Linked DNA regions of Homo sapiens: region 1 is linked to region 2. The links are contacts of gene promoters, found by promoter capture Hi-C in blood cells and fetal thymus (Javierre and others, 2016). All regions are on one chromosome and are shown on one strand. The core of a region is centred on a gene start or on the middle of the fragment in contact, and the rest is flanking DNA. Distances in the headings are between cores, read along the strand shown.

Region 1 (3,238 bases), core at 84-2,583, 98 kb after region 2:
TTAGTTTTTATTCTGAGTGAGATGGAAAGCCATTGAAAGGTTGTGAATAGAGGAGTGAGATTATGTTTTCATGGAATCTCTATGTCTGTTCTTTGGAGAATATGCTGAAGCTGGACAAACTTATTATAAAACAGTAGGTCAGGTAGGAGGTAGTTGCAATAATACAGGCAAAAATTATTGTGTTGTGTACCAAGTTGATGTTTTGTGATAAACAGCCAAATTCTGGATCTATTTTGAAGATAGAGAAAGTAGGGCGCATTGACAAATTTTGTGTAGATAAGGAAAGACATACAGAATGGTGCCCAAATTTACATGTCCTAGTTAGATATGAGCTGTATGAGGACAGGAGTCATAAATGATTGTTTAGTATTTTATCCTTTTCTAGTATCTAGTTCACAGACAGCAATAAGAAGTACTGAATGAATGAATAAAACATTCATGTAGGACACTGTATCAGAATTTGTATATAAAGCAGAGATCCCTCTTTTCTAGGCTACCAAATTCTTGATCTTTCTGAAAGTCGCTTTTTTCAGGCACAGGGATGGAAGATGTATGGATTCTTCCTTTTCGGATTCAGGTGCTTCTTCCAAATATCCTCCTGTCAGTCTCACTCTGGTGGCTGTCACCCTGCAGGGCTGTGGTTGGTTATTCTTTACCTTTCTAGATAATGCAGAGAAAGGTGTTGTGTAGACCAGCTTCTTCTGTTTCCTCCAAGATTCAGACTACTCAAACTGCATGTTCATTCTCAGAGAGAAAGAAGGGCCATATTCCATTTTCTCAAGATCCAATGCACTCACTCATCTGTTTTTTGAAAGAGTCTTTGTATTTTGAAAGAGTGACTTCTGACCTCTCAAGGAAACTTTCACAACATGAGTCTTCAGAGCCCTCGATTTGGCACTACCTGTAGCACAGAGCACCCCAATCAAAGGCCTAATGAGTCATTTTAATCCTGTTACTCTGGTAATTTTCTATTATGGGTATAACACAGTTATTTCCTTAGTGGTGCCTAGAAACAGTGTATGTTGACCTAGTTACAAACGTTCTTTACACAGTACAGTACTACACAGTGTGGAAAAATCTATTTGAACATATTTTAGAGTAAAATGATATAGTAAAGAATAAAACTCAAAATTCTACTTTCAAAGTTTTGGCCACAGGGAAAGGTGACGAATCCAATTAATAAGGCTCATGATCATCAATAAAAAAGTATATAAAGGATGACAGAATAAAGTTTTGAGTTTTAGCTTTCAAAAATTCATTTATCCCTGTGACAATTTTTAAGGTTGTTGGAGAGATGGTGCTGACAAATATGTCAGAATGCCCTAGAAATTAAGGGTATCACTTTAGCAAGTGAGAGAAGTAATTCTGAATTTTGAACAGAAAAAAAAAAGAAAAAGAGAAAAGAAGAGAAAAAGTTGTTACCTTCAGAAGAACCAAGCCATTGCAAATATGTCCCTGTTAAGTTGATTGGATTGCTGTGAAAATGTCAAGCATCTCTGGGCTAATTGCTTAGAACATCCTTCTATTTACTACTTAAAAAATGAGTAAAATGTGAAAAGGTGTCTTTGATCTAGATTTCTGAATCTACACTGGTATGTTTATTTTAGGCATCATAATGGTAAATATGTAAAGCATGTTTCAAATTTTTCAGTTAATTCCTCTATAAAGGCAACCTTTATTCAAGGAATATATAGTGAGGGTGAGGTTGTCATAGACTTTTCTTGCTAATTTTGGGTTGCAAATTTCTAACCAACTTTCTATAAAAAATGTAATATGAGACAAATATGAGAAATAAATGACATTTCTTTTTCTTGGTGGGATCCTGTGCTTCATAAGAAACACTAGATGAGTTTCCGTATTCCAGTTTAGAAAAACATATTGGGGCTACAGCTTAAAAGCAACACTTATGTGATTTTTTAGCAATCTTTGATGAACTCTAGGAAAATGGGGCTAAAATGTTTCTCGAACTTTATCACAGCTAATCAAACTTAGAGTCAAATAATATGTAGGCTGAGTAAAAGTTTCCACATAGAACAAAATATTTTTTTTTGTTGTTGAATGTGACTTATGGCACATTTTAATATTTTTTTCTCACTTCCCTACTTTGTTACATTCTATTCTCAAGCCTTTGGGTTAGTCCTTATTCTTAAATTCATACATGCCATGTATTGTGCTATAATTCATTCTTGGATGATGACTATATTACAGAATGATTTGAAAAAAGTAATTATTCTTTTTTTCATTCATTGTCATTAAACCAATCAAAAGCATTAGACTTGTCATGGGGTTTCTGATTGTTTTAGTCTGATTGGGCATTCATAACAAAGTACCATAGACTGGTTGACTTGAACAAGAGAAATTTACTTTCTCACAGTTTGGAGGCTGAGAAGTCCAAGATCAAGATGCCAGCCAGTTGGGTTCCTGGTGAAAGCCTGCTTCCTCACTTGCAGATGGCTGCCTTCTCTTTGTGTGCTCACATCGCCTCTCTTCAGGTGCACGTGCCTGGAGAGAAGGAGAGAGGTCTCTCTCTCTCTTCCTCTTCATATAAGCCACTGTACTATCAGATTAGGGCCCCACCCTTATGACCTTATTTAACCTTAATTACCTCCTAAAGACCCTATCTCCAGATAGTCACATAAGGCGTTAGGGCTTCAACATATGAACTTTGGGCTTCAACATATGAATTCAACGTATGAATTGGAACACAATACAGTCCATTGCACTGATCTGTCAACAGATCTGTGTCAGTATTTCCAGTGGTTTATCATGCTGATGGTCTTTCAGTTTCTGCAATCAACATTTACAGAACTGTACTGACACTTTGCTAGACTCGGGGCATATACTCTGTACCTGATACTATGCTAGATTTGAGGCATTATAAAAATATATAAAAGAGTCTTCTGATTTTAAGCTTATAGTCCGATAGTCCAGATTGTATATATATGTATATATATATATATATATATCTCCACAAACGTCATTAATAGTTCTGAAATAAGTAGAATCAAATAGGCTAAAAGTAAGATTATAGTTAATACACTTTTAAAACCCACTCTGATATCAATACCCCTGTTAGACCTTTGCAAGGCTATCTTGTGGTTAATTTCTTAACTTAGGTGGTAAAAGTTCAGGAGATACCCTGAGTATATAAGCATTGAGGCTAGCCCTGTCCTGCCAGTTTCCTTGGTATTATTGTGACTGTTAGGTTTTAAAGCTGTTTCTGTGTGTGTTTGCCCTT
Region 2 (3,178 bases), core at 522-3,021:
ACACTTTTTACACATGACTAGGTTAAAACAAAAGTAGACATTTGTGCAAACACCACTGTTCTCCCTTGAAGTGGTTGTAGGTCTCAGACAGTGCTAATTTTTCTCTTTCTTAATGTGTGTGGTTAGGAAGCTGGGTCCTGTGGCCAGAGTGAGCTGACCCACTATGTGAGGAAACTTACTTATCACAGCCTAATAAGGAGTAGTCCTTGCAGCAGAAGTAATTACTAAATGTGCTTTGGTCATTTGACAGAAATCAGGGAGGCAGCAAGGAGTCATGGAAATGAGCCCAAACTGAGAGTCAAAACCCTGTGGTCTGCCGACACCCCCATCCCACATCCGTACCTAAAAGCAGGCTGTGCACTAGGGACCTAGTGACCTTACTAGAAAAAACTCAAATTCTCTGAGCCACAAGTCCTCATGGGCAAAATGTAGATACCACCACCTAACCCTGCCAATTTCCTATCATTGTGACTATCAAATTAAACCACAGGCAGGAAGTTGCCTTGAAAACTTTTTATAGTGTATATTACTGTTCACATAGATAAGCAATTAACTTTACATATACCCGTTTTTAAAAGATCAGTCCTGTGATTAAAAGTCTGGCTGCCCTAATTCACTTCGATTATACATTAGGTTAAAGCCATATAAAAGAGGCACTACGTCTTCGGAGAGATGAATGGATATTACAAGCAGTAATTTTGGCTTTGGAATATACACATAATGTCCACTTGACCTCATCTATTTGACACAAAATGTAAACTAAATTATGAGCATCATTAGATACCTTGGCCTTTTCAAATCACACAGGGTCCTAGATCTGCTGTGTGATGCTGGAAAAGTAACTTCACTTCTGTGGGCCTCAGCTCCTTAATTTTTAACATACTTTGGATTCTTATATCTTTGTCAGCTGTCAACTTCAGTGTTTTCAGGTTAAATTCTATCCATAGTCATCCCAATATACCTGCTTTAGATGATACAAACTTCAAAAGATCCGGCTCTCCCTCGTAAAACGTGGAGGACAGACATCAAGGGGGTTTTGTGAGTAAAGAAAGGCAACCGCTCGGCAAAAACGCACCCTGGCACAACAGGAGCGAATAAATACAGACGCTGATTGAGCGTTTGCTCCATCTTCACTTCTGTTAAATGAAGACATTGATATCTAAAATGCTATGAGTCTAACTTTGTAAAATTAAAATAGATTTGTAGTTATTTTTCAAAATGAAATCGAAAAGATACAAGTTTTGAAGGCAGTCTCTTTTTCCACCCTGCCCCTCTAGTGTGTTTTACACACTTCTCTGGCCACTCCAACAGGGAAGCTGGTCCAGGGCCATTATACAGGTACGTCCCCAACCATCCAAGGAAACTTTGCAAAGAAGCTCAAGTATTAGGTTTCGAACACCCCTCCTTCCCCCTGCCTCTGCCCGCGGGAATCCATCCAGCGCAATCTCTGGTCCCGGGCGAGGCGACACCACTGAGTCCCCAGGGGGCACCCGCAGGCGCGCGCGGGACCAGGCCGGGCTCCACGGCCACGTGCGCGCTGCCCCCGCCTTGCCTCGCCAGTTAACCCGGCGGTGACCCTCGCACCGAAGTCCCCCGGCGTCCCTGCCACGTTCAAGAGAGGAAAGGCGGGCGGGAGCGCGAGACTGAAGTCGGCGTACCTGCAGTGCCAGGAGCGTCTCCTTGGTTCCCCGCGCTTGCTCTGCGGGCGGCTCGGGGCTCCGCTATCCGCTCCCTTCCCGAGGCTGCAGGCGGCGCTGGGCCCGGGCTCGGCCGCGCACAGGAAGCCCGCGCCTGCGAACGTGCGACCCTTTTATAACTCACTTGTGACTCATAACCGACCAGGCGCCTTTTCTGCAACCCCCCCCCCCTTCTCCCCCCTCCTGCCTGTTCTTGGAACCTACAGCTTGAAAAACTTTTTTCTTTTTAAAGGAAAAGTCGAAAAAGCCCAGCGCCCGGGTAGTTGGTGTTTTCCCCTTTCCCTTTCTCGTGGGTCATTGCGTGTGTGTATTTTTTTTCTCTCAACACACGCCGTGTACTTTCCTGCACCGCGCCGCAAGGCTTGGGCTCCAACCTTTGTTCTTAAAGAAAAGGAAACGCCTTCAAATGACGGCCCAGACGTCGCCCGAACTTTCAGTCGGCTGGAGGGGGAAGTGGCGACTTCTTGCAACTGGGTGGCAGGAGTGTCTCTACTCTCTCCTTGCAGGGAGCCCGAGAGGAGCAAGTGGGAGGTTTTTCCTCCTGGACCGAATCAGCTGGAGACCAGCAGGTCCCTAAGAGAGGAAGAAATGGTCTTCAGGCGATCCTGGATTTCATCCCTACCTCATCACCCTTCAAGAGCCCGCGTTTGGTTTGGAATACGTAACTGGGCTTTGAGAACGTTTGTACTGTGTCTGGTACCCGCATTTATACTCGGGATGTCAAGATATAGGACTTAAAACTTCAAAAATTTTGACCTCAACAACATTCTCCCCCTGCCCTCCACTCCCATCTCCAGGACATATTCCTGGAGCATATGGGACTTCGGTCGTTTTAATTTTTGGTTTTGTCGCTTCTCTCTTTTCTCCCGGACCCTGCCACAAGGGGAACATTTTCCTGGAGCAGCCATTTGATTTTGGGGGATGGAAAGGAACAAATAGATCTAAAGCCTGGCAAGTTTATCCTACAAGCCTAGTCGAGTAACTCATTCATGGGTCTCAGTTCAATAAACGTTTAGACTTGAAGAAGAATAAGGAAATATGGGGAAGAGAAGGAGGACAGGAATAGATCTAGCCTCATCAACATGTGACTGGGGCCTTTTTGTAAGAAAGACGGGGCCACTGCTGGATTGCATTGCAAGTATCCAGTACTTGGACCTCCCTGTCAAGGGCACAAGACATTTTAGAATAGTTTGTATTAAACTGATGCCAGTTACATGTCAGAATACATGTCAGAGCTGGAAATCCCATAGTACTTAATTTACAGATGGCTCAGGTTGGTTAAGGAACTTGGGAGCATTTTAAAACCCTCTATTCTTAAGATACATGCTTTTTCTCTTATAATTCAAACAAGAATAATCATGATGATAACAACTAACACTTATAAAGCATTTACCATGTGCCAGATCCTGTCCTAACACTCCTTATATGCATTAACTCTTTCAGTCCTCACTATGATCATATGAGGGAGGAGCATTATAATC

Evidence for each region. The method cuts DNA at HindIII sites, captures the fragments that hold promoters and counts their contacts. A CHiCAGO score of 5 or more calls a contact.
Region 1: a fragment that was not itself captured here is called in contact with the fragment with the promoter of MIR155HG in region 2 in 5 of 17 cell types (activated CD4 T cells, M0 macrophages, M1 macrophages and 2 more); the score reaches 24.5 in activated CD4 T cells.

Annotation. Positions count from the first base shown.
Region 1 is chr21:25,462,121-25,465,358 of GRCh38, reverse strand. All of the region lies in intron 8 of LOC105372753 (a long non-coding RNA gene), which reads left to right. Among named protein-coding and RNA genes, the nearest start is that of LINC00158, 32 kb to the right of the region's middle. The HindIII fragment of the contact is 3,160 bases long and covers 1-2,913 here.
Region 2 is chr21:25,560,738-25,563,915 of GRCh38, reverse strand. It overlaps MIR155HG (MIR155 host gene), which reads right to left and starts at 1,771. Exons shown (of 3, transcript NR_001458.3): 1 at 1,659-1,771. RefSeq lists silencers at 1,427-1,706, 1,717-1,806 and an enhancer at 2,187-2,236. The HindIII fragment of the contact is 13,141 bases long and covers 1-3,178 here.